Linked DNA regions of Homo sapiens: all the other regions are linked to region 2. Evidence: promoter capture Hi-C in 16 types of primary human blood cells and fetal thymus (Javierre and others, 2016). All regions are on one chromosome and are shown on one strand. Each heading gives the region's core, a stretch centred on a gene start or on the middle of the fragment in contact. The rest is flanking DNA. Distances are from core to core; before and after follow the strand shown.

The links. Contacts are between HindIII fragments. The CHiCAGO score rates a contact against its expected background, and 5 or more counts as called.
Region 1: a fragment that was not itself captured here is called in contact with the fragment with the promoter of KCTD7 in region 2 in 2 of 17 cell types (total B cells and erythroblasts); the score reaches 6.8 in total B cells.
Region 3: a contact is called between a fragment that was not itself captured here and the fragment with the promoter of KCTD7 in region 2, in 1 of 17 cell types (total B cells). The highest score is 5.4, in total B cells.
Region 4: a contact is called between a fragment that was not itself captured here and the fragment with the promoter of KCTD7 in region 2, in 10 of 17 cell types (fetal thymus, naive B cells, total B cells and 7 more). The highest score is 12.7, in fetal thymus.
Region 5: a contact is called between the fragment with the promoter of TPST1 here and the fragment with the promoter of KCTD7 in region 2, in 1 of 17 cell types (naive B cells). The highest score is 5.6, in naive B cells.
Region 6: a fragment that was not itself captured here is called in contact with the fragment with the promoter of KCTD7 in region 2 in 1 of 17 cell types (neutrophils); the score reaches 5.9 in neutrophils.

Annotation. Positions count from the first base shown.
Region 1 is chr7:66,947,947-66,952,637 of GRCh38, reverse strand. TMEM248 (transmembrane protein 248) reads right to left here. Exons shown (of 7, transcript NM_017994.5): 4 at 3,944-4,094; 5 at 1,503-1,686. Among named protein-coding and RNA genes, the nearest start is that of TMEM248, 29 kb to the right of the region's middle. RefSeq lists enhancers at 1-16, 1,037-2,236 and a silencer at 1-16. The HindIII fragment of the contact is 299 bases long and covers 2,592-2,890 here.
Region 2 is chr7:66,626,038-66,630,701 of GRCh38, reverse strand. KCTD7 (potassium channel tetramerization domain containing 7) reads right to left here and starts at 1,821. Exons shown (of 4, transcript NM_153033.5): 1 at 1,494-1,821. The coding sequence starts at 1,637. RefSeq lists silencers at 1,461-2,030, 3,041-3,240. The HindIII fragment of the contact is 8,113 bases long and covers 1-4,664 here.
Region 3 is chr7:66,889,463-66,894,010 of GRCh38, reverse strand. It overlaps the pseudogene RNU6-1254P. Among named protein-coding and RNA genes, the nearest start is that of LINC02604, 12 kb to the left of the region's middle. The HindIII fragment of the contact is 1,962 bases long and covers 470-2,431 here.
Region 4 is chr7:67,004,488-67,009,027 of GRCh38, reverse strand. The region is part of intron 3 of TYW1 (tRNA-yW synthesizing protein 1 homolog); the gene reads right to left. Among named protein-coding and RNA genes, the nearest start is that of TYW1, 9.9 kb to the right of the region's middle. The HindIII fragment of the contact is 175 bases long and covers 1,740-1,914 here.
Region 5 is chr7:66,203,879-66,208,264 of GRCh38, reverse strand. It overlaps TPST1 (tyrosylprotein sulfotransferase 1), which reads right to left and starts at 2,931. Exons shown (of 6, transcript NM_003596.4): 1 at 2,743-2,931. RefSeq lists silencers at 2,529-2,888, 3,039-3,308. The HindIII fragment of the contact is 8,515 bases long and covers 730-4,386 here.
Region 6 is chr7:66,128,854-66,133,231 of GRCh38, reverse strand. It overlaps CRCP (CGRP receptor component), which reads right to left. Exons shown (of 6, transcript NM_014478.5): 3 at 2,390-2,488. Among named protein-coding and RNA genes, the nearest start is that of CRCP, 16 kb to the right of the region's middle. The HindIII fragment of the contact is 4,765 bases long and covers 238-4,378 here.

The DNA of each region.
Region 1 (4,691 bases), core at 1,492-3,991, 320 kb before region 2:
AAAGGGACCCCAGACATGGTTCCATTCCTTTACCCTCTAGTATCTCCAGGCCTCAGGACAGCTCTGGGCTCCCCCAGGTCATTTATAACATAGCGGGGCAGCTCAGTCTTCTCAACACACTGCTTTACCAACACCCACGCCCCAAACACAGGCAGGGACTGCCCTTGGCCAGGCACTAAGGGCCTCAGCCCACCATCCAGCCTGACCTCCATAGCTGGCTCCTGCAGGACCCTGGCCTACAAATGAGCCCCAGAAAAGGGCAAAGGTCGGGCATAGTGGCTCATGCCTATAATCCCAGCACTTTGGGAGGCTGAGGTGGGAGGATCACCTGAAGTCAGCAGTTCAACACCAACCTGGCCAACATGTCGAAACCTTATCTCTACCAAAAATACAAAAATTAGCTGGGCGTGTTGGCAGGTGCCTGTAATCCCAGCTACTTAGAATCACTTCAATCCAGGAGGCAGAGGTTGCAACGAACCGAGATTGTGCCACTGCACTCCAGCCTGGGTGACAGAGAAAGACTCAATCTCAAAAAATAAAAATAAAAAAAAATTAAAATAAAGAAAAAAAGAAAAGGGCAAAGGGCCAGGCCAAAAGAAGAGAGATCCAGCTAACACACACTGCCAGAAAGGAACATATTTATAAAATATCAAAGCAGTGTTAAAAAGTGGGCTTGGGCCAGGTGCAGCGGCTCATACCTGTCATCCCAGAAACTTTGGAGGCCAAGGCAGGAGGATCGCTTGAGACCAGGGGTTCAAGACCAGCCTGGGCAACACAGCAAGACCCCCGTCTCTACAAAAAGTTTAAAAATTATCCCGGCATGGTGACATGCACCTGTAGTCCCAGCCACTTGGGAAGCTTGAGCCCAGGAGGCTGAAGCTGCAGTGAGCTATGATTGCGCCACTAGACCCCAATCTGGGCGACAGAGCAAGATCCTGTCTCTAAAAAAGTAAGTGGGCTCAAGTCTAAGTAGGAAGCTGAGCTAGCAGCACACAGCTACTAGATGAGATAGGTAAGTATTTTGTTCCCCTTGCCTCTTGGTTAAGTTAAATCCTATTCAGGCCTCACTCTCTAGCCGAAGATTCATCTCCTCCTACTACTCCCTTCTATCTTTCAGAACTCTAAGCAGCACTATTTCTTGTTCACACGGACACTAACTAGATAGTCTTCTATGAACGTCTGTGAACATCCCTCTAAGATAATATTAATAGAAGGATCCCTTGTAACCCCCCCCAGGGATTAGGCAGTTGCTCAAGAAATAACTGCTGCTGAACAACAGAGAAAATGAAGAGAAAAACCAGATTTTTCTTAACCAATGGGTAACATGTTTTTCCAAGCATCCACCACTCCGCCTAGTGTCCTAACTCACCTGGAAATCTAAAGTGGCAGAGGATACGCTTACCCAGGGAAGTCAGCAGGGCCTACACCAACGGTTGCAGCACATGCGCACACATGTGCATATGCATGCACGCACACACACACACACAATTTTTCTCACTTACATCTGGAACAATCACTGTAAGCTTGGGATTTAAAGCATGATAGACTTTTCCAATGGCCCCCTTATAACACCAGAAAGGATTGTAATCTTGGGCGTATTTTGTGTTGGCATCTCTGGCAGTTGTGAAGATCTTGTACCAGAGCGTGGCGTTGCTGTACGTGTCAGGAACACAGTGCGGTGGCTGTCTGCAGGAGAAGAGGAGGAGGAAAGACACGTGCTCAGTGGCCTGAGTCATTCACTTGTGTCACCCCCACAGCAGCTGGTAAAACACTGAACACGGCAACACACATGGAAAGGAAAAATGTAACTTACACGTTCATGCTTCTTTGAGATAAATACCATTATATTTTAGTTTGAGGGTCTTTTTTAAAAAATAAAAATATAACAGAAAAATAAATAGGTGCCTGACATTTAGGAGTTTGGGTGTTGGATTTTTGCCTTCAGAATTCAGCCTACAGTCCTCTCACATGTGATGCAAAGCACATAAGCTCCTTTTAAGCCTATCTTCTCAAATGAGCTAAACTCTTAGTATATTAGTCCTTTCTCATGCTGCTGATAAAGACATACCCGGGACTGGGTTATTTATAAAGGAAACAGGCTTAATTGACTCACAGTTCAGCATGGTCAGGGAAGCCTCAGGAAACTTACAAGCATGGCGGAAGTGGAAGCAAACACATCCTTCTTCACATGGCGGCAGCAAAGAGAAGTGCCAAATAAAAGGTGGAAAACCCCTTATAAAACCATCATATCTCATGGGAACTCTCTTACTATGAGAACAGCAGCATGGGGGTAACAATCTCCAGGATTCAATTACCTCCCACTGGGTCCCTCCCATGACACATGAGGATTATGGGAACTACAATTCAAAACGAGATTTGGGTGGGGAGACAGCCAAACTATATCATCTTTTTTTTTTTTTTTGAGACGGAGTCTTGCTCTGTTGCCCAGGCCGGTGTGACCTCGGCTCACTGAAACCTCCACCTCCCATGTTGAACTGATTCTCCTGCCTCAGCCTCTCAAGTAGCTGGGATTACAGGTGTGAGCCATTGCGCCCAGCCCAAAGCATATCACTTAGTTACAACTGGAAGCTTTACCTACAAAATTCTATATCAGTCACTGCAACACAAAGTAATGTTTAACTTAATCTGATCTTGTCCTACAAACCTCCAAATGTCTAAAATAGACAAATCCTGAGATAATTCTTATTTAAAAAGGATTCACCATAGAATTATTTTAAATAGGCTATATCTTATGTATTTCACCTATTTATTTATAGATAATTATCTCCTTTATAGAGACAGGAGAGACCAAAAAAAACCAACAACAAAAAAAACCTAAAATGCAAAGCAGTAACACTGAATGCTGCTCAAAAACACTGAAGGAAAAGCTTCAAAAACCTTAATTGTTTAATGGAAAATAAAGTTCAATTTATATTTGATTTTAAAACTAATTTTCAAATTCGCAGGTAAAATTAAAGTAACTGTTTAATGGGAAATGATTTAAAATGTTAGATTTTAAAATTAGTTAATTAACAGAAAATAAGTTTTGATTTATACTTGATTTAAAACTAAAATCAAGATAAACTAAAATCAACGATTTTAAAATATCTTTCTGGATAATGGAGATGAACAAAACCTTTATCTTTGTTTTATTTGATTTATTTATTTTTTTGAGACAGAGTCTTGCTGTTGCCCAGGCTGAAGTGCAGTGGCGCGATCTCAGCTCACTGCAACCTCTGCCTCCCTGCTTTAGCCTCTGAGTAGCTGGGATTACAGACATGTGCCATCATGCCTGGCTAATTTTTATATTTTTAGTAGAGATGGGGTTTCACTATGTTGGCCAGGCTGGTCTTGAACTCCTGACCTCAGGTGATCTGCCCACCTTGGCCTCCCAAAGTGCTGGGATTATAGGCATGAGACACCGCACCTGGCTGAAAACCTTTATCTTTAGAGAGCCTCTTTTCTTTTTTCTTTTTCTTTCTTTTTTTTTTTTTTTAAATAGAGACAGGGTCTCCCTATATGTTGTCCAGGCTGGTCTTGAACTCCGGGGCTCAAGTGATCCTCCCACCTCAGCCTTCCACAGTGCTGGGATCGCAGGCCTGAGCCACGGCACCCGGCCACAGTGAGCCTCTTTTCTGTAACTTGCTGCTTCTACTCCTGCGGGAAAGACAGCCTATGAATGTCCAACAACAGCCAGGTGCTTTTACTGCCTCGAGGGGGCACTAACTTTCTGATTTTATATGCAGAAGTTCTATCTTTAGAATTCCAAATTAAATAATCCTTTAGACAAATTAAATAATCCTTTAGATAGGTCCGAGTAGAGATAATTCTATAAAGAAATGTGAAGTGAGCCATCCTGAGAATTTACAGCTGAAGCAGCCCAGCCGTACTCACGGCAAGTGGAGCTTGTTACGCACGTTCATCAGGTGCCGGGTACACTTACACAGTGACGGGGAACACCCCAGGGCTGGCCGTGAGGGTCATGCAGGCTGTGAATACCACCTGCTCACAGTGACCGTGGAGGGCGCAGTCATCTGAGCTCCACGCTGTAGGCAGGGTGAAGGTGATGTTTATCTCCTCGTGGGCTTCCCTGCCTATGAAAGAGAAATCATTTTTTTATAAAGTCAAGAACCACGTACTTGTCATTCTCTGGGATACAAATAAATCCTGAAATCAAACCCACACAGGAATCATCTATCAGCCCAGGCACCTGCCTTTGTGGGATCTGAGGAAGAAGAGCAGTCCTGACCCTGACCATGAGTCCTACTCAACTCAGAGCCACGAAGCAGCGAAGGAAGTGGCCACTTTCCAGTACATGGCCTGGAGATGCCAAACCAGACCTCGGGCAGATCAGAGATGAAAAGCTCGGGCTGGGTGAATTATCCCCAGCATTTCTGCACAGCTGTCTAGCCATTTTCAAACATCTTTTATATGTATTATTTCACTTAAAATTTACTACTCTCCCATGAACATGACTGAAGAAGTGCAGCTGTTCCCCTTTTACATATGAACAAACAGAGGTCAGAGGGTTTCAGAGTTAAGAAAGGCAAGTGATGAAGCTTAAACTAAAACCAACGTATTGCCAGGCACAGTGGTTCACATCTGTAGTCCCAGCACTTTGACTTTAGAAGGCTGAGGCAGGAGGATTGCTTGAGGCCGGGAATTCACGACCAGCCTGAACATGACAGCAA
Region 2 (4,664 bases), core at 572-3,071:
TGACTTTTTTCCAATTGCAGAGATTACTTCTAGATTTTTGCTCATTTTCCCATGGCATTGTGTGTATGGGGCTTGCAATCCCAGCACAACACTATCTGCTTCCCAAGAGCATCACCTAGCCCAGCCTGTTGAGGGCCTCAATTGTTGAGGGCCTCCATTGTCCTGGGACTCCGCATACCACATGCTCCTGGATCTGGCACTACCTTAGTCCCTGCCTCCTAGAAGCCATCTTCGGTGTCCAGTAATGCTTCACCTTCCCTCCTCTTTATTTTTTATTTGTAGAGATGGAGTCTGTGTTGCCCAAGCTGGTCCCAGACTCCTGGCCTCAAACCATCCTCCTGCCTTGACCTCCCAAAGTGCTGGGATTACAAGTGTAAGCCACCACACCTGGCATCGTTTCCCTTCTCTTGCTTTTTTTGTTTTTGTTTGTTTGTAGGTACGGTCTTACTCTATCACACCCAGGCTGGAGTACAGTGGCACAATTACAGCTCACTGCAGCCTCAACCTCCAGGGCTCAAGCAATCCTCCCAACTCACCTTCCTGAGCACCTGGGACTACAGGCACACACCACCAAGCCTGGCTAATTTTCATTTTTGTAGAGGCAGGGTCTCACTGTTGCCCTGACTAGTCTCTAACTGCTGGGATCAAGCAATCCTCCCACCTCAGCATCCCAAACTGCTGAGATTACAGATGTGAGCCACCATGCCTGGTATCTTCTCCCGTCTCTTGAGTGTCATTTCAGGTGTTGACATGATAGTATCACACACATTAAGTAAGACCCGTGGAAGCCCCTGTGCACCAGAGCACAGCAGCCTGTGAGTGAAAGCCATGGGATGCCAGGTGACCGTGCCTACATCTATGAACTGGCCTGCCCCTTATGTGCAGACAGCTCCTTGCCTTGTTCCTTAGGTAGCTGGAGACTAGGTGTGGGCAACCACTACAGCATCCTGTTGGATTCTCTAGAAGACATCTTTTTCTTTTCTTTTTTTTATTCATCCAACCCAAAATGCCTTTGTTTTTCCAGTCGTAGTAGGGACGGGGCCTCGCTATGTTGCCCAGGCTGGCCTCCAACTCCTGCCCTCAAGCGATCCTCCCTCCCAATGTGTTGGGATTACAGGCTCGAGCTACGGTGCCTGGTCAGACACACCATCAGCTCTCGGGGCTCCAGGGTCCCCCTCCCACGGCCCACCCTCCCTCCTGTCTTCGGTAAAAGTGGGACATGGCGATGGGAGTAAATCACCCCAGTGACTACTGGGCGGAGGGTGTAGGGGGTGGGGAAGCACACCTAGTGGGTGTAATTGACAGGGGTTGAAGGTGGGTGGGTAGGGGTGCAGGTGGGCGGGGGAGTTGCAGGTGGGCGGGGGAGGGGCGCAAGTCCGCGGGCCCCGCCCCCAACCCCGGCCCCGCCCACCCGCCGAGGACCGCTATGCCCCGCGCCCGCTTCTCCCCCGCGCCCCTCCCCACGCCCCGCGGCCCGCCGCCCGCCCGGGTACCTCCTGTGGCAGCAGGGGCAGCGCGTGCCCCGCCTGCGTGGCCGTCGGCGTGGCCGGCTCCAGAAAGTCGTCTTCGGCGTCAGAGCTGGACATGGCACCGTCCTGACGACGGCTGTCTGGCTCCCGCCCCGTGACTACCACCATCCCTCTGGCTCTGGGCAGTGGGCGCGGCTTCGGGCGGGCGGAGGCGGCGGCCCCGGGCACTCCCTACCGCCGAGCAGCGCCTGGCATGACGCGGCCGGCTGCGGGCTGGCCGGAGGGGGGCGAGAGGCAGTGCGCAGGCGGGAGGGCGGTGGCTCCCTCAACGCCGACCCGCTCGCGCCCAGCTGGGGCCTGACCCGACCGCCTCCCGCTACTGGCCGACGCCGCGCTGGTTCCGCCCTGATTGGCAGGAAGCTCGCCCAGTCGAAGAGCAGGCAGCGCCAGCGGCCGGCGCCTGAGTGGTCCCTGGGTTGGGGGGGGGGGGGGGGGGCGGCCTGCGAGCCTGCCGTGCACTGATTGGTCCTCTGGCCAGCGGGCGCGCCCTCTCCGAGAGACCCGGCGGTGGTGCGCCGCTACGCTCTCATAACTGGGCGTCGGAGTCTGCCGTGAAGAGGGTTCTCACCCGCGTCAGGGTAGACGCCTTATCCCTTCACACAGGGGGTCACGACTTACTCGTGTGTCTGGCCCCAGAGCAGCGGGTCCTTGTCTCCTCAATGGAAGGCCTGAGCAGCCTTTCCTGGAGGATGTGGCGGGAGGAGGGCTGAGGTGGCTGCGGACACGCCACCGCGGCTGGCCCCGCCCCGAGCCGCAGGGCACCGCCCGGGTGTCCAGTTCTTCCTCACTCGCTCGCGCAGAAATCCGAACGAGAAAACCCAAAATAGGAGCGCTTGAGTTCAATGAATAATGACAGTGACTCCCCACCGTGACCGTTTTTCCACCGGGACACACAGATGGAGACAGGCCCTTCCCCAAGATGCTCCCGGCTCCCTGGGAGGCGGAGTCCAGCCCTAGAGGCTCTATCAGCGCAGGGAGTCTCCTGGGGGTCAAGGTTCTTAGCCCGTTCAAGCCATTTTCTCCTTTCTTTAAAAGACAAAGTCTCACTCTGTTACCCAGGCTGAAGTGCAGTGGCGCAATCATAGCTCATTGCAACCCCTGGGCTCAAGCAATCCTCCCGCCCCAGCCTCCCGAGTAGCTGGGACCACAGACGCGCACCACCACACTCAGCTGATTTTTTAAAATTTTGGCCGGGCGCAGTGGCTCACGCCTGTAATCCTGGCTCTTTGGTAAGCGATGCGGGTGGATCACCTGAGGTCAGGAAGTTGAGACCAGCCTGGCCAACATGGTGAAACCTCATCTCTACTAAAAATACAAAATTAGCCAGGCATGGTGGCACACCTGCAATCCCAGCTACTAGGGAGGCTGAGGCAGGAGAATCGCTTGAACCCAGGAGATGGAGATTGCAGTGAGGCGAGATCACGGCCACTATACTCCAACCTGGGCAACAAGAGCGAAACTCCGTCTCAAAAAAGAAAAAAAAATTTTTTTTTTTTTTTTTTTTTAAGAAATGGGGTCTTGTCATGTTGCCCAGGCTGGTCTCAAACTCCTTGCCTCAAGCTGTCCTCCCTCGTCAGCCTCCCAAAGTGCTGGGATCGCAGGCGTGTGCAACCATGCTTCTCCTTTTCAAACCGTTTTCACACCCAGTTCCTCATCTCATTCTCACAGTGTAGTGACAGAAAAGAAAACTGAGTCGTAGATTAGACAGCTCCAGGATGGCAAAGATGAGCTGGTGGCATAGCACTTCCTCTGTTAGACCATCGCACTCCCAGCTGCAGGAGTGTCCTAGGTCTGTGTTTTCTCCAACTTCAGTTGCATCAAAATCCCTGGAGGGAGACCTTGTTTAAACACAGATGAAAAGGAATGAAATCACGTCATCTGCAGCAACGTGGATGGACGTCATTATGTTAAGTGAAATAAGCCAGGCACAGAAAGACATAAATATTGCATGTTCTTATCTGTGGCAGCTAAAACAAATCGATCTCATAAATTTAGAGAGTAGAAAGAAACCAGAGGCTGGGAACGGTTGGGTGAGAAATGAAGAGATTTAGGTTAATGAAGGACATACAGTTAGATAAAAAGGTTTATGTTCTATGGTTCAAAAGCAGAGTAGTGACTATAATTAACAACAATGGATTGTATATTTCAAAATAGCTGGAAGACACTTTGGGAAGCCAAGGCGGGAGGATACCTTGAGCCCAGGAGGTCAAGACCAGCCTGGACAACGTAGTTAGACCCTGCCTCTACAAAAAATAAAATATATATATAGCTGAGTGTGGTGGCTCACATCTGTAGTCCCAGCTACTAGGAGGGTAAAGCAAGGAGGATCATGCGAGCCAGGGAGGTCGAAGCTGCAGTGAGCTGTGATTGCACCACTGCATTCCAGTGCCTAGGTGACAGAGACTCTGTTTCAACAACAACAATAACAAAAATCTAGAAGAGAGGACTTGAATTGTTTCCAACACATGAGTAAATTCCCAAAGTGATGGATACCACTAATGCTCTGACTTAATCATTACACATCCTATGCACGTAACAAAATATCACAGATATCCCATACATATGTAAAATATTATGTATCCATAAAAAGTTAAAATAAAAAAATAAACAGAGCCCCAGTCCCACCCTCAGAGAATCTGAGTTGATCAGTCTTGGGTGAAGCACTTGGTAATTTGCATTCCTAACAAATCCCAGGATAATTATGATGCTGCTGGTCCATGAACCACACTTTGAGTAACACTGCCCTAAAGGAGGCCCCTTGAGGCCCTCTCTTGTCTTCCATTATACTCTAGTCTTTCTCAAAAATACCTGTAACAAAATTTCCTCTTTCAATCCTTATGCCAATTGGGATGTTTCAGCTGTACCAAGAAACTGCAACCAAAAGTAGTTTAAGCAGTCAGGGAATTTTATTTTATTTTTATCTTATTTATTTATTTATTTTGAGACAGAGTCTCTGTCGCCCAGGCTGGAGGGCAGTGGCGCAATCTCGGCTCACTGCAACCTTCACCTCCTGGGTTCACGCCATTCTCCTGCCTCAGCCTCCCGAGTAGCTGGGACTACAGGCGCCCGCCTCCACGCCCGGCTAATTTTTTGTATTTTTTTTAGTAGAGACGGGGTTTCACCGTGTTAGCCAGG
Region 3 (4,548 bases), core at 201-2,700, 260 kb before region 2:
TAGCCCCTGACTCCATCTTGAAGGCCAGAACTGCAACATCTTCAAATCTCCCTCTCTGACCTCTTCTTCCATCACCACATCATCTTCTCTAATTCTGAGAATTAATGAAATATTATGCTTGATGTTATTGTGATCATCATACCTATTCCAAACTATTTGACAAGGACAGTGATGGATGATAACATCAAAAGATTAGAAACTGTAATGAGGTCTCTTGGGCAAAATTCCATACAAGCAAATTACTGTCTCTCCAAAGCACTCCTGCCACTCTTACTTCACCATTCCCTGAACAAAATGTGCCATCTTCATTGTCCAGGTCTTTACAGTGCTGGTTTCCCCACCTGGACAGCCCACTCCATCCCATCCCAGCCCATTCCCCATCCCTCCACCTCCTCCTTCCCTCCTCACTCTCATACAACTCTTCCTCATCTTTCAGGACCCAGCTTCAATGTCAACTTAACTGGAAGCTTCTCTCACCCTCCAGAAGTGCTTTCCATTGTTCTTGATGTATGCACTATTATTTGATCATTTTTTAGTTACAGTCCAAGTCTTTTTGTACCTGAATAACATGTTGCCCAGTCAGTCTCTCTTCCTGGACTCTGACGTCTTTCATGGTAGATCCAGCTGGAAGTGACAAAAAGACATCCTTTAAAAAAAAAAGGAGGGATGAAACAGACATCAGTACTTAAAAGTTTTAAATGGTATGTGAAAAGCAAACAAAATTCAAGGGCTTCTAGGAAAAACGTAGGATGGAAGGTGTTAGTGGGAAATATGATAAAGGGTTAATTTTTATTTTATTTTATTCTTTGAGAAAGGGTCTTGCTCTATTGCGTGGGCAGGACTGCAGTGATATAATCACAGCTCATGGAAGCCTCTACCTCCGGGGCTAGAGCAATCTTCCCACCTGATTTTTATTTTATTTAAGAAACACAGTCTTACTCTGTTACCAAAGCTGGAGTGCAGTGGTGTGATCATAGCTTACTGCAGCCTCAACCTCCTAGGCTCAAGTGATCCTCCAGTCTCAGCGTCCCATGTAGCTGGGACTACAGGTGTGCACTGCAATGTCCAGCTCATTTTTTAAAAAATTTTAATAGAAACAAAGTGTCACTCTGTTGACCAGGCTGGTGATGATCTCCTACCCTCAAGCAGTTCTCCCACCTCAGTCTTCCAAAGTGCTGGGATTACAGGTGTGAGCTGCCACATCTGGCTGAGGGTGTTAATTTTTAATTATATAAAGAGTTCAAAGCAAACATTAGAAGGAGCCTAAACGCCTACAGTGGCTGACTGGTAAACTGTGATACATCTATATAATAAAATATTATGCAACCATGAAAAGGAGTAAGATAGATCAATAGGTATTGGCATAGATGTCCACGAAATATGAAAATGTGAAGTGATGTCCAATTAGCCTATATGTATCTTGAAGAATATGGCCCATTTTTGCAATAGCAATTATTTCCTGAGATAAAATTGTGGGTCTAAAGAGTGAAGGAAAATTTTCACTTCTTTATTTAAAAGTATTTACTATTTTTATAATTTCATAAAAAATAGATAATCAAATTAGTAAAAGACTCATTAACTCTATAAATAAAGGGAAAAGACACAGACAGCCCAGGCATGGTGGCTCACACTTATAATACCAGTACTTTGGGAGGGGGTGGTGGGAGGATCGCTTGAGGCCAGGAATTCCAGAATACCCTGGGAAACATAGCAAGACCTCGTCTCTACTAAAAATAAAAAAAATTAGTCAGGTATGGTTCCATGTGCCTATAGTCTCAGCAACCGAGGTGGAAGGATCACCTGAGCCCAGGAGGTCAAGGCTGCAGTGAGTCAAGACTGTATCACTACACTCAAGCCTCGGCGACAGGGTGAGACTTGGTCTCAAAAATTAAAAAAGGACAATGAAGAAATAAAGCTGATAAGCTAACACAAGGAAAGATATTAAAATATGACAAATAAAAATAAAGTAATACTAGGTATTTTATTTATTAAAAATAGTCAAACAAAAAATAACTTGTTAAATTATAATACCCTGTGCCGGCAAAGGTGCAATGAAATGTGCATTTTCTTTTTTTTTTTTTTTTTTTTTTTTTGAGACAGAGTCTCACTCTATTGCCAGGCTGGAGTGCAGTGGCGTGCTCACTGCAACTTCCAACTCCTGTGTTCAAGCGATGCTCCTGCCTCAGCCTCTCGAGTAGCTAAAATTACAGGCACAGACCAGCACGCCCAGCCAATTTTTGTATTTTTAGTAGAGACGGGGTTTCACCATGTTGGCCAGGGTGGTCTCGATTTCTATCTCGTGATCCACCCACCTCAGCCTCCCAAAGTGCTGGGATTACAGGCATGAGCCACTGCGCCTGGCCTGAAATGGGCAATTTTTTTACACTATTAGTGGTGTTTAAATTGTATATAAGCCTTTGAGAGTAAAGCTTGGCAGTCTTTTTAAAATAATACAGACAGTGATTCCCTATACTGCCTCCTCTAACTCCTGGCTTCAAGCAATCCTCCCTCCCACCTCAGCGTCCCAAAGTGCTGGAATTAAAGGCAGACAGCCACCATGCCTGAAAGCTCGACAATTTACATCAGGTGTAATAAGAATGCTCATGCCCTGTGACTCACAGTAATCTCACTTCTGGAAATATCATCTTTGGATATAATTCAAACAAAAGGTCATATGTACCCAGTGAAAATCTGGGAGTAATTTTTTTCTCTTTTTAAAAAATATATGGAATGCTTCACAAATTTGCATGACATTCTTGCAAAGAGGCCATGCCAATCTCTCTATTGTTCCAACTTTAGTATATGTGCTACCGAAGCAAGCATGAGTAATTTAAGATAGAGTGGTTAAGTGGAATAAGGAAGAGTTATGGGGAATTTCAAAAATCTATCATATTTATAGGCACCTAGTAACAGCTCAGTAAATATTAGCTGCTACTTTTATTATTTTTATGGTAATTCCACTCAATTAAAAACTGTCATTAAAAATTACCATTGTCATGGAACATAATGTATCCTACAGTATAACTGTAGAAACAGACACAATTTGTCCCTTGGTATATGGGGGGATTGGTTCCAGCTCCTCCATTTCTATGTATACCAAAATCCACACATACTCAAGTTTTTGAGTCAGTCCTGTGCAATCCACATATAGGAAAAATGGGAAAATTAGTGAGGTGTAGTGACAAGCACCTGTAGTCCCAGCTACTTGTGAAGCTGAGACAGGAGGATTGCTTGAGCCCAGGAGGTTGTGGCTGCAGTGAGCCATAATTGCACCACTGCACTCCAGTCTGGGCAACAGAGTGAGATAGAAGGTTGACTTTTTAATAGAATTTTTCTGTTCACTTGAAGATATGGCCAGGACTGTGCCATATGACAATTCTTCATAAAATAATTATCTCACCCAATTAATGTTGGAATTGGGAACAGAAAATGTTTTGGTGACTATTTATTCCTTCACTTGCTGTTATAGAAACTATTGCCAGTGGGCACTTAACAACCAAAAGTGTCATCTCTGAGCTACCCACAATGAAAGGTGATGTCTGGGGCCCAGGTGTGTTGAGGTCCCCATGTCTGGGCTATGGGTGCTGAGTGGGACTTACTTGTCCATCCATTTTCTGTATTCCAGCACTGGGAAACTTGGGTTTATCCATCTTGATAAGAGGTCATTTAAATTCCACTTGGCAAGAACCCCAAATGGAAGAAAGGCCATGAAACCACAGGCTAGCCCTTGTTCTCAAAAGAATCTTTAGCTTAGGTGGTTCTGTAAAAGAGGAATCACATTGTTGAAAACTCATCACAGGTCAGGTGAAGTGGCTCATACCTATAATCCCAGCCTATTGGGAGACTAAGGCAGGAGGATCCCGTAAGGCCAGAAGTTCAAGACCAGCCTGGGCAACACAGTGAAACCTCATCTCTACGAAAAATTAGAAAATGAGCTGGGTGTGGTAGCACAGTCCTATAGTCCCAGCTACTCTGCAGGCTGAAGTGGGAGGAGGAAAGTGGAAGCTGCAAAAGTGGAAGCTGCAGTGAGCTCTGATCTCACCACTGCACTCCAGCTTGGGTGACAGAGTGAGACCCTGTCCACACACACACACACACACACACACACACACACACACACACACTTTCATCTCAGTCTGCACAGCCTTGACTAGTGAAAAGGGTTTTCTGGTTACAGAAGAGGTATGCTCTTTTTTAGGACAGGGAGGGACCAGCAAGCTTGTTCACAGCCTTTTCCTCATACTCTGCTTAGTTTTCCAAGAACCTTTATGTGGAAAGGGAGTCCCTGAAGAAAGGACCTAAATCATCAGGTTACTAAAGGAGAAATATGCCTCCTTTGTCAATTAATAAATGGAACGCCTGCCTTAAAAACCAGAGTTCTGCTAGGATGAATCACTCCCTACGACCCTGAGCTATGCAGCGAATGTAAAAACCTGGAGTTTGGGGACCTACAATATTGAAGGCCACACTGCAGATATGGAGACCTTACCAAAGTACAGCCTTTCCACAAGGAACTACCAAACACCAGCTGGCTGTCTCCATGGGGCA
Region 4 (4,540 bases), core at 578-3,077, 380 kb before region 2:
ATAAAGAAAATAACATATTAAAAAACAATAAACACAGAGAAGTGCAAAAAGAAATAGTGAAGAATGGGCTGGGCACAGTGGCTCACACCTGTAATCCCAGTACCTTGGGAGGCCGATGCAGTTGGATCACTTGAGGTCAGGAATGCGAGACCAGCCTGACCAACATGGTAAAACCCCGTCTCTACTAAAAATACAAAATTAGCCAAGCGTGGTGGCACACACCTATAATCCCAGCTACCCGGGAGGCTGAGGCAGGAGAATCACTTGAATCCAGGAGGCGGAGGTTGCAGTGAGCCAAGATTGCACCATTGCACTCCAGTCTGGGCAACAAAACTCCATCTCCAAAATAAATAAATAAATAAAATAAAAGAAAGAGTGAAGAGTGAAAAGAATGGGAAACATGAAAAGAAGCCGGTTGACAGACAGGAAAAAGTCCTAGGGAAGAGTTCACAGGGCTAACAGAACCCCAGAGAAGCTCTAGGCTGGGAGCAGCCACTACAACAAAAGATGGAATGAATATCTTTTGTACGCTAATGAGATGGCTTACTGGAGTGAGGCCTCAGATAGCTTCAGGATGGAGGCTCGTTGCCAGAGAAACTGATGAGAAGTTAAACTCAGCACCTCCTACCCCAGCCCCAACAGGGAACACTAGGGAGAGAAGAGGGGCTGGAGATTGAGTTTAATCACCAAGGCCAATGATTTAATCAATCGTGCCTATGTAATGGAGCCTCCAAGAAAAACCCCTGAACAATGGAGACTGTTGACTTGGTGAACATACCAATGTGCTGGGGAGAAGACACGGCCAGAAACGGCCTGGAAGCCCTGCTCAACCCCCACCCCTCCATAGCTGGCCCTGTGCAGCTCTTCCATTCGGCCGTTCCTGAGTTGCATCCTTTATGATAAACCACTAAACATAAGTCAAGCAACTTCCTGAGGTCTGTGAGTCATCCTATAGAACCTGAGGAGGCAGTGGTGCAGAACCCTAAATTTAAAGCCGGGACTTGTGACTGGTGTCTGAAGTGGGGGCAGTCTTGTGGGCTAATGATAACTCCCAATAGTAAGCATGAGAACTGGTATAGAAAAAGGACAGGTTGGCCAGGCGTGGTGGCTCACACCTGTAATCCCAACACTTTGGGAAGCCGAGGCGGACAGATCACCTGAGGTCAGGAGTTCAAGACCAGCCAGACCAACATGGTGAAACCCCATCTCTACTAAAAATACAAAAATTAGCCAGGAGTGGTGGTGGGCACCTGTAATCCCAGCTACTTGGGAGGCTGAGGGAGGAGAACTGCTTGAATCCAGGAGGCAGAGGTTGCAGTGAGCCGAGATCGTGCCACACTGCACTCCAGCCTGGACGACAGAGCGAGACTCCATCTCAAAAAAAAAGAGAAAAGGTATTTGGGGGTCAGAAAACAGTACTGCAGCAGGCCTCAAGGACTGATACGGTTTGGATATTCGTCCCCTCCAAATATCATTAACACGTAATCTCCAATGTTGGAAGTGAGCTCGAATAGGAGGTGTTTGGGTCATGGGGGTGGGTCCCTCAGGAGTGGCTTTGTTACCAGTGGAGGGTCTTGCCTAGGAGTTGTCCAGGTTGTTCACATGTTCAACAAAGAACTGAAAAAAATGCAACAAGCGAAGCAACAAAAACACAGATTTATTGATGGGAAGGTACACTCTACAGTCAGGAAGCAGGCTTGAGCAAGTGGCTCAAGAGCTCCAGTTGTTTTTATTAAGCTTAGGTTTTTATTAAGCTAGAAGAATTTGGTAACACCCCCAGGTATCCTTGGGAGGCTTCCAATTGGTTACACCCTATATAAATGAAGAATTGGCTCATGGCCAATCAGAGGCTGCAGTGGAGTTATACCATATGCAAATAAAGAATTAGCCCACAGCCCATCAGAGGCTAAAGCTTTCCTTTCAGTTTAATTCAAGGACGTCAGCCACAGGTTGGCCTTAGGCTCTGTCTCCAGACTCTACTTTCCTACCTCAGCTTGCCGCCCTCCCCTTGGTGTTGAGTTCTTGCCCTATTAGTTCATAGATGGCTGTTAAAAAAAAAAAAAAAAAAAAAAAAAAAAAGCCTCACATCTCTCCCTACTGTTTTGCTCCCTCTCTCACCATGTGGTACCTATTCCTCCATGGGTGGAAGCTTCCTGAAGCTTCACCAGAAGCCAAGTGGATGTTGGCACCATGCTTGTAGAGCCTGCAGAACCATGAACCAAATAAACCTCTTTTCTTTATAAATTACAGTATTAGTCCATTCTTGCATTGCTATAAAAAAAATACCTGGCCGGGCATGGTGGCTCATGCCTGTAATCCCAGCTCTTTGGGAGGTCAAGGCGGGCGGATCACTTGAGGTCAGGAGATCGAGACCAGCCTGGGCAACATGGTGAAACCCCATCTCTACCAAAAATACAAAAAATTAGCTGGGCATGGTGGCATATACCTGTGGTCCAGCTACTTGGGAGGCTGAGGTGGAAGGATCGCTTGAGCCTGGGAGGCAGAGGCCGCAGTGAGCCGAGATCACGCCACTGCACTCCAGCCTGGGCAACTGGGTGAGACTCCATCTCAAAAAAAAAAAAAAAAAAAGGAAAAAAGAAATACCTGAGATTGGGCAATTTATAAAAAAAAGACATTTAATTGGCTCACAGTTCTGCAGACTGTACAGGAAGTGTAACGGCATCTGCTTCTGAGGAGGCCTCAGGGAGCTTCCAATATTGGTGGAAGGCAAAGGAGGGGCAGGCACATGACATGGCAGGAACAAGAGAGAGAAGGAGGCAGTGCCACACACTTTTAAACAGCCAGATCTCATGAGAACTCACTGTCACGAGGACAGTACAAGGGAGATGGTGCTAAACCTCTCATGCAAAATCTGCCCTCAAGATCTAAGCACCTCCCGCCAAGCCCCACCTCCAACAATGGGACTACGATCCGACGTAAGATTTGGTGGGGACACAGATCCAAACCATATCAATTACCCAGCTGCAGGTATTCCTTTATGGCAATGCAAAACAGACTAACACAAGGATAAAGTGAGATTTGAGCCAAAGCCAAAGGAACTGGGAGAACCATGAGGTTATCCCAGGCGGCAGGAACAGTGAACTGCAAAGGCCCAGAGGAGGTTACTAAGACTGAAAAAAAAGAAACCAAGGAGATGGGGTAAGAGAGTTAACAAAGAGCCACACGTGTAGGATCTCTGGGCCACTGTGAGGACTCAAGCATTGACTCTTGAATGAAGGGGTCAGTGCAGGGTTTTAAGCAGAGGGATGACGTGACTTCACCTAAGTTTTCAAACAGTCACTGAGGTTGCTGAGTTGAGAGTACACTGGAGTCAGAAGAGGGCCAAGTGGTACTGAATCAGAAACACTGTCTTAGTCCATTTTGCTATAAAGGAGTACCTGAGACTGGGTAATCTATGTCTTTTATTTTTTTGAGACAAGGTCTCACTCTGTCACCCAGGCTGAAGTGCAGTGGCACAGTCACGGCTTACTGCAGCCTTGACCTCCTGGGCTCAAGCAATCGTCCCACCTCAGCCGCCCAAGTAGCTAGGACTACAGGCACATGCCACCATGCCTGGCTAATTTTTGAATTTTTTGTAGAGATAGAGTTTTGCCATGTTGCACAGGTTGGTCTCAAACTCCTGGTCTCAAGTGATCCACCTGCCTTGGCCTCCCAAAGTGCTGGGATTATAGGCGTGAGCCACTGTGCCTAGCCCAATCTATGTTTTAAAAAGGTTTATTTAATGCAGAGAACCCCAGTGAGATATTACGTAAGATGGCCATCCCCAAGACACAAAATCATCAGATTCTCCAGTCGAAATGAAAGAAAAAATGTTAAAGGCAGCTAGAGAGAAGGGGCAGGTCAGCTACATAGGGAATCCCATCAGGGTAACAGTGGACCTTTCAGCAGAAACCCTACAATCCAGAAGAGATTGGGGCCTATATTGAGCATTCTTAAAGAAAAGAAATTTCAAGCAGGGCATGGTGGCTCACATCTGTAATCCCAGCACTTTGGGAGGCCAAGATGGGTGGATCACCTGAGGTCAGGAGTTGGAGACCAGCCTGACCAACATGGTGAAACCCCATCTCTACTAAAAATGCAAAAATCAGCCAGATGTGGTGGCGCACACCTGTAGTCCCAGCTACTCGGGAGGCTGAGGCAGGAGAATCACTTGAACTCGGGAGGCAAAGGTTGCAGTGAGCTGAGATCGCACCACTGCACTCCAGCCTGGGTGACAGAGAAAGACTCTGTCTCAAAAAAGAAAACAAGAAATTTCAACCAAGAATTTCATATCCAGCCAAATTAAGCTTCATAAGCGAAGGAGAAACAAGATCCTTTCAGGCAAACAAATGCTAAGGGAATTTATTACAACCAGACCTGCCTTACAAGAGGTCCTTAAGGAAGTGCTAACTATGTAAAGGAAAAATTGTTATGGGCCACCATAAAAAGGTTTATTTGGTTCACAATTCTGATATCTGAAAAAGTTCAAGATTGGACAACTACATCTGGTGAGGGCTCCAGGCTGCTTCTACTCCTGGCA
Region 5 (4,386 bases), core at 1,682-4,181, 420 kb after region 2:
GTGAATGGTCTGTTTCTTTACTGCTTTTTTCTCTGGATCACAAAGGGCCCAGGAAGGGGATGCGCCCATGCTACAGAAGGCTTGGAAGGACTGGCTCAACATGCTAAGGGTTTGGGAGCTGATGAGAATTTTTAAAGAAAACAAGCAGCATGATCAGATTGATAGTTCAGAAATGGAACCAATTCCAGCAGCAACGTGGAGGATTAAGTAGACTACAGGACCCAGAGGTTCAGAAAAAGCATAACCAAGGTCTGAACCAGTCTTCTGGCAATGAAGAGAGAGAAAAAAAAAAGATGTTATGAAGAGAGGAAAAAAAAAGATCTGAGGTAGCAACAACAATAGGATCTATGCTAGACTTAATGTGAGGAGAAAAGAAGATGATTTTAAGGTTTCTAGAGTAAAGATCTTAAAATAGTAATGTTTGTATATGTGCTTAAAGGGGGCTATGGGTGGAGAGAAAGGGAAGGAAAAGGTAACCACATTTGAAGTAATCAAGCATCCACATACAGCTATGCAGTAGGCAGATGAAAATTAGAACCTGAGGTTCAAGAGAAACGGGGACTAAATAGACGTCTTTGAAAACCATAAATATATAGGTGCTATTTGAAGCCATGAAAGGAAGTGTAATCACACAAGGAAATTAGAGAAAAGAACAAAAATGAAACCCTAAGGAATGCCACGTTAATCTGAGAAGAATAAAAAAAGAAAAGGGAAGCATCAAGAAAAGCTTTGTTTTGGTCTGAATGGTGGAAACCTGAGGATGTATACCATCCAACAGAAAAAATAATAATATGGGAAGAGATCAAAGACGTTAGCTTTCGAAAGTAAGACCCCTCTTCTTCTGAGATCAGAGGAAAGGATATTAGAAATCAGGTACAGACAGGCACAGACAAAAATGACCTCTCCTTAAGAGTTCAGGGCTGATGCCCACCAATTTATTCTGTGAAGTTAAGTGGCAAAATAAGCAATGAAGAGAAGGCAAGAGTAGGACAAAGAGTCAGAGAAAAATGGTAAAGATCCATAAACAGCCATTTAGATTTTAGGACATAAGAGGAATCTAGAGGTTAAGTCAAAGGATCTCCAGGATCCAGAAGTGCAGAAACAGCACCCAGCAGTTTAGTTATATGATTTTTGCCAGTCTGCCTTGGGAGCCCAGGAGCAGAAAAAGCTGACTGATTCGTCCAGGCTTGAGACCATCAGAGCAAAGGTGGCAAGAATAGTACAGGGCCAATGACAATGCTTTTATCATTTTAAAAAGTCAAACGTATTTTACTCTTTTTTAAAAATCGACTCGCTATTTCCTCCAAGAGCGAGTGTTTGGAGAGGGGGAGGGAGAGGGGTGGATAATTCCTCTCTCACTCTTAGAGGACTTGTCAGAAGTTTCATTCTTAAGCATATTTGGTCTGTACAGCAGCTGATTCCAGGAAATCCAAATCCTGATTCCTCCTGGATCTTAAAAGATGAAAATTCATTGCAGCTCCCTGGACTATCCAGCTAATAGATAAACACGTACCACATTGCTTATATACTATGCCACTTTAGCTGGGAGGTAGGGGCTCTTTCTTTCCTAAAAAGAAAGTTACCCAAACACTGCAGATGGGGATGGAGAGGGGATGGGGAGTAATTACACCGCAAAGCCTGCTGACTAGCAGCCTAAGAATCCTTTACAAAGGCAATTAACATAAAACAATACATGGCACGGATAGCAGAATTGTTTCTTCTTAATGAATGCAGTAATTGACCATTTAATCGCTTTACTGGAGTTCACCAATTTCTCCTGCCATCTCCCATACCATTCTTCAGGCAGAGTCAAATCCCTGTGGACACTGGACTTCTTGCTACCATCATCTGGAAAGTACAAAACGCCTGGAAGGAGGAAGAGGCTAACATGCGTGACCACCCACCATGTGCCAGGCCTACTGTGTGCTAGACTCTGGGCAAGGGACTTTACATGTTATGGGGTGCAGCTCATGTAAGGACGAATGAAGATATTACACTATGGATCTGAGCCAGGCGCAGTGGCTCACGCCTGTAATCCCAGCACTTTGGAGGCCGAGGCAGAAGGATAGCTTGAGGTCAGGAGTTCGAAGCCAGCCTGGGCAACATAGAGACTCCATCTCTCAAAAAAAAAAAAAAAAAAAGCGATGAATCCGGCATTGCAGAGAGTGGGAAAGTGTCTGGAGGTTTAAGAGTAAGAGAAGGAAGAGGAGATTGCGATGGTGGGTGGTCAAAGTGAGGGGAGAAGAGGCGAGTTGGGAAAGGAAGGTGCTTAGGAGCAAAAGGGCAAGACCCAGGGACACCTGGAGCGGGGCGGGCGACTGCCATGCAGACAGGACTACGTACAACGGGTAGGATGATGGGGCGATGAGCTCAAGAAGCGCAGCCGGGGTAGACGTGGGGGCAAATGTCCGATCCCGGCGAGACGAGGGTCTCATCCCAGGGGACTGCGGGGCTAGGACGTGGTCCCAGGGCTGCGAGAAGGGAGAGAAAGGGCAGAGGGGAGAGGCCCCGGCGGCCGGGGCGAAGCCGAGCCCGGGAAATGCCGGCGATGGGGGAAGGGGCGTGGGAGCAGGGGCCGGACGGGCCAGACCCGGGGCTCCGCGCTCGGGGGCGGGGTTGGACAACCGGGAGGCACCGAGCAGAAGGCGACAAGGGGCCAAGGGATGCCAGGACGGGGCACAGGGCCGGGTGTGAGGAGACGAGAGGGGAGCGGAGCCGCAGCGAGCGCCGCGTCCCCCTTACCTGGGATGAGTGAGGAGCCGCCGCGCCGCCTGGACGGCATCCTGGCCTCAGCCGCTGGTCCCACCGCCTTCGGTGGGGGGCCACTCGGGAGCCCGCCCTCACCGCCAAGCGCCGGCAGCTGCCAGCCTGGACCGGCCCCGCAGAGCAGCGCCGTTCCGACCCGCAACCGAAGCCGCCTCAGCAGCGTCTCCCGCGGTCGCCAACTCAGCGACAACCGCCAGGGTCCGGGGAGGTGGCGGGATCACACATCTGCTACGATTGGCTGAGCGGACGATGTGTCGGCTGCTCTGATTCGTGAGTTCCGGCCGGCTGCCCACCGAAGGAGGCGCGGCTGGGAATGGAGCTGGGTCCGGCAGGCGCCGAGGGGCGGGGGTCTGACGTCGCAGCCGGCCAGCGCCCCCACAGCCCTTCCCGTGCGCGCTCCCGAGGGGGCTTCCCGGCAGCCGCAGGCCTGGCCGGGTGGTTGCCCTAGCAACAGCGCGCGTGGCCTGGCTGCAGGGGAGCCGCGGGCAGGTGGCGGTCCTCACCGCCCCCACCCCCAACGTGGGTGTCCCAGAGGCCTTCATCAGTGAAACCCTAGGACAGGAGAAGAAAATGAGCTTTTCCTGATAATTCCTCTCCTCTGCTTCAGAGCCCACCTTTGCCCGCTGCTGGCAGAGAAGCTGTCATCTCCTCGGGGAGATAACGCGCAAATGCAAATAACGAACTCAAACACTATTTCATCCCCACGAGAGTGTAGACGTGCAATAGTCCCTCCCAACCACAGAGGTGGGGGGCTGACGCCCTAAAAGAAAGAAATGAAAACTAGGGAGAAAAAGGCAAAGAAGCAAAAGAAAGGTGGGGAAAGGGCAGATATTTCACAAAATGATCCATTCATTTTACAGTTTCTTCCTACAGACACATCTACACCAGGTTCTGTCAAAGCAATTATTTCTACTCCAGTGACATGGATTAGAGAAGGCATGAGTGCAGAATCTAACAGCTGTATTCAAAATTGCTCTCTGCTAGGCCAGGTGGGGTGGCTCATGCCTCTAATCACAGCACTTTGGGAAGCCAAAGCTGGTGAATCACCTGAGGTCAGGAGTTCGAGACCAGCCTGGCCAACATAGTGAAACCCCGTCCCTGCTAAAAATACAAAAATTAGCCGGGCATGGTGGCGGACGCCTGTCGTCCCAGCTACTGGGGAGGCTGTGGCAGGAGAATTGCTTGAACCCGGGAAGGTAACTACCTTCCTTTGCACACAGTATAATATTTTCAAAGTTCATCCATGTTGTAGCATGTATCGGCACTTCATTCCTTGTTACGGCCGAATAATAGTCCATTATACAGACATCACCTTTTTTTTTTTTGAAGAGTCTCACTCTGTCTCCCAGGCTGGAGTGGAGTTATGTGATCTTGGCTCACTGCAACCTCCACCTCCTGGGCTCAAGTGATTCTCATGCCTCCGCCTCCAAAGTAGCTAGAATTACATGCATGTGCCACCATGCCTGGCTAATTTTTATATTTTTAGTAGAGACGGGGTTTCATCAAGTTGCCCAGGCTGATCTTGAACTCCTGGCCTCAAGTGATCTGCCTGCCTTGGCCTCCCAAAGTGCTGGGATTACAGGCATGGGCCACCGTGCCTGGCTGGACATCATCTTTTAT
Region 6 (4,378 bases), core at 1,371-3,870, 500 kb after region 2:
ACCCGGCCAAGAATGAGAAAAATTTTTAAATCACTCTTAGGCAATTGTACCATAGTCATAACTACTGCAGGAAAGACCCACCAATAAATGCTAAAATTGATGGTTAAAAGCTTAAGCAAAGGGTAGGCTGTTTTCCTAGCCGCAAAGCATCTCCCACAAAATATTTTTTAATTACTGTGGTGGTTTTAACATACAACCACAAATTCTTCGATATCCCTCCCTTCAAGAGGTGAAGCTTAATCCCCCCGCCCCGCTTCCCCTTGAATATGGGCTAAACTTGGTAAGTCCTTTCATCTTATTTATTTATTTATTTATTTATTTGAGACAGAGTCTTGCTCTGTCGCCCAGGCTGGAGTGCAGTGGCGCAATCTCGGCTCACTGCAAGCTCCACCTCCCAGGTTCACGCCATTCTCCTGCCTCAGCCTCTCTGAGTAGCTGGGACTACAGGCGCCCGCCACTACGCCCGGCTAATTTTTTGTATTTTTTCTTTTTAGTAGAGATGGGGTTTCACCGTGGTCTCGATCTCCTGACCTTGTGATCCGCCTGCCTCGGCCTCCCAAAGTGCTGGGATTACAAGTGTGAGCCACCACGCCCAGCCAAATCCTTTCTAACATAATGTGGAAATGAAGAAACAGTAGATTTACAGTGGAGAAACCAGGCAGATACCATCTTAACGAAATGACCAAAGTTAACAACATCACCCATAAGAAACATCAATATCATGTACCCCCAGAAATCAGGACACGAGAAGGGGAGATTACCTCTGTGGTACTCTTCCTCAAAAGCCATAGGTTTTGTGTAATCATAATAAAACATCAGGCAATCACAAATCAACAGACATTCTACAAAATACTTGACGAGACTTTGGAAGTGTCAAGGTCATGGAAGACAAAGGAAGAGTAAGGATATAGATTGAATGACATTATGGGGACATGTTAACTAAATACAAAATGGTATCCTGAACTGAATCCTGGAACCCAGAAGACAGCAATGGGAAAACAGGGCATTCAAATAAAATTTAAGTTTAGCTTAATAGTATGTACCAATGTTAATTTCTTGGTTTTGATCACTGTACCATGGTTATGTAAGATATTAACATCAGAGAAAACTATGGGAAGGGTACATGAGAACTCCCAGCACTGTCTCTACAACTTTTATGTAAGAGAAAAATGGCTGGGCACGGTGGCTCACGCCTGTAATCCCAGCACTTTGGGAGCCAGAGGTGGGCGGATCACATGAGGTCGGGAGTTTGATACCCGCCTGACCAACATGGAGAAACCCTGTCTCTACTAAAAATACAAAATTAGCCGGGCAAGGTGGTGCATGCCTGTAATCCCAGCTACTCGGGAGGCTGAGGCAGGAGAATCGCTTGAACCCGGGAGCCAGAGGTGAGCCGAGGTTGCGCCATGGCACTCCAGCCTAGGCAACAGGAGCGAGAATCCGTCTCAAAAAAAAAAAAAGAAAAATGATTTCAAAATAAAAAGATTTTTCTTTTTTTTCTTTGATTTGCAATGATGTGATGCTTTCTCATGATTACACAGATTTTGTGGCTTTTGAGGAAGAATATAGATAAAATTTCGGAGGAATTATAATTACATATTTTGGAAGGAATCTCAAACTTGAAAAATAATAGCCTTAAGCGTGTAAGTTCCCAGCACTTTGGGACGCTGCAGTGGGAAGATCCCTTAAGCCCAGGAGTTGGAGACCAGCCTGGACAACAACAACAAAAAATAGCCAGGCGTGGCAGTGGATGCCCATAGTCCCAGCTACTTGGGAAGCTAAGCTGGGAGCATCACCTGAGCCTAGGAGGTTGAGGCTGCAGTGAGCTGTGATCCCCTTTCAAGGAGAAATGAGGGCAATCTTTTACACTATTCCTTCTAACTTTGTAGCTGGCTAAACTCTAAACTTGACCAAACTCCTCTCACTTCTATAAACAGAATAAAAATTAGGTTAGAGTAGGCTGGGCGCGGTGGCTCATGCCTGTAATCCCAGCACTTTGGGAAGTCTAGGCGGACGGATCACGAGGTCAGGAGATCGAGACCATCCTGGCTAACATGGTGAAACCCTGTCTCTACTAAAAATACAAAAAATCAGCTGGCCGTGGTGGAGGGCGCCTGCAGTCCCAGCTACTCGGGAGGCTGAGGCAGAAGAATGGCATGAACCTGGGAGGTGGAGCTTGCAGTGAGCGAAGATCACACCACTGCATTCCAGCCTGGGCGACAGAGCGAGACTCTGTGTCAAAAAACAAACAAACAAACAAAAATCAGGTTAGAATAAAACATTCAGATCATATAAAAAGCAATCTTAATTTCAGCTGCCAGTCATTGGGAGAATAAACCCCCCTCCCTCAATGGTACTTTAGGTAGGCCTGGCAGAAGCCCAGCCTTACTTCATAGGTGATAGTGTTCAAGTTCTGTTGCCCAGAGCTGTGTTTATTCTTTCCACTTTCTTTACGCTGCTCTTTCAGATCAGTTAGTAACTGAAATACCTAGGAGGAGATACAAAAAAGACGTTTATGAATAAATTTGAGAAATATATCTATCCAAGGTCAGTGGTTTTGAAGGATAAACAGGAAAGTATAGTACTTCCTTTCACCCGCCCATCACCCAGCTTCCAACTCTTGGATTTGAGCAAATATGAGTCCCAGAGGCATATTACATTTTTAAAAAATGTTCTTTTATATAAGCCAAATAATTCAAATTCATTAATTTACTTAAAATATTTCAAATATTTCCTATCAATATGTACATCACTAATCTGATCTCAAAAATATACTATTTGAAAGCAGATTTTCTTAAAGCAAATATTTTGTTAAAAAAGAATTCTGGGTCCAGGCATGATGGCTCACGCCTGTAATCCCAGCACTTAGGGAGGGTGAGGTGGGCGGTTCATGAGGTCAGGAGATCAAGACCATCCTGGCTAACACGGTGAAACCCCATCTCTACTAAAAATACAAAAAATTAGCTGGACATGGTGGCGGCACCTGTAGTCCCAGCTACTCGGGAGGCTGAGGCAGGAGAATCACTTGAATCCGGGAGGCAGAGGTTGCAGTGAGCCTGGATGGTGCCACTGTACTCCAGCCTGGGTGACAGAGCGAGACTCCATCTGAAAAAAAAAAAAAAAAAAAAAAAAAAGAATCCTGCTTCTCTAGTATAAAAATCTAATATAATAATTTCTTTCTGGAAAAGAAAAATTTTGAGGCAAGTGATAAGACAGAGTTTACCCCCCAAAAAAGAAAGGAAAAAATGCTATGGATCTTTAGAAGCAAACTTTCCCACAAGGATAAAACATACATGTATTAGTGCTGGGGGCAGGGGGGAATCTTAGTCTCATTCCTGTTTTAGAGATTCTACCACAGAAGTGAAGAAAATGCAGGCTCACACACCATCACCAGATACAATACGACCCCTCTCATCTGCTGGTCCTTTCAGAAATAGTGGCATGAGATCAATGAATGCAATGTTTCCCCAATGGATAAAACACCCAAACACCTAGCAAAGTCCAAACTGGACAAGGAGGCTCCTAAAAGCCAAAGGCTTGGCCAAAAACCATTCAACCATTTCCTTCCTGTTCTAAGCTGCAACCACTTAAGACTGAGCCTTTAGAGAGGAAAGAATATGGCCAACTCTGTTTATTCTACTACCTTCTTTTTTGTGGGGCGGGGGAGGGGAGCACCACAAGGGGGTAGGTTTCTTTCTTTCTTTTTGCTGTCTTACACTCTGGGAGCTTTTTTTTGGGGACACGGTCTCAAAAGCTGTCTCCCAGACTGGAGTACAGTGGTCATCACTGTAACCTCAAACTCCTGGGCTCAAGCGAACCTCCCCTCTGCCTTCCAAGTAGCTAGGACCATAGTAGGTGTTTGCTACCATGTCCAGCTAATTTATTTATTTTTATTTTTTTTGAGACGGAGTCTCGCTGTCGCCCAGGCTGGAGTGCAGTGGCACAATCTTGGCTCACTGCAGGCTCCACCCCCCGGGTTCACGCCATTCTCCTGCCTGAGCCTCCCGAGCAGCTGGGATTACAGGCGCCCGCCACCTTGCCCGGCTAATTTTTTGTATTTTTAGTAGAGACGGGGTTTCACCGTGTTAGCCAGGATGTTCTTGATCTCCTGACCTCGTGATCCGCCCGCCTCGGCCTCCCAAAGTACTGGGATTACAGGCGTGAGACACCGCGCCCGGCCGCTAATTTATTTTTTTAAGAGCTGGGGGTCTTGCTAGGTTTCCCAGGCTGAGCTCTAACTCATAGCCTCAAGCAATCTTCTCTCCTTGGCCTTCCCAAGTGCTGAGATTACAGGCGTGAGACACTGCACTTAACCTACTACCTTCTAGACCTCCTGAGTCTTTCTGAGTTTAGACTCTAGCACATGGAAAATTCACAG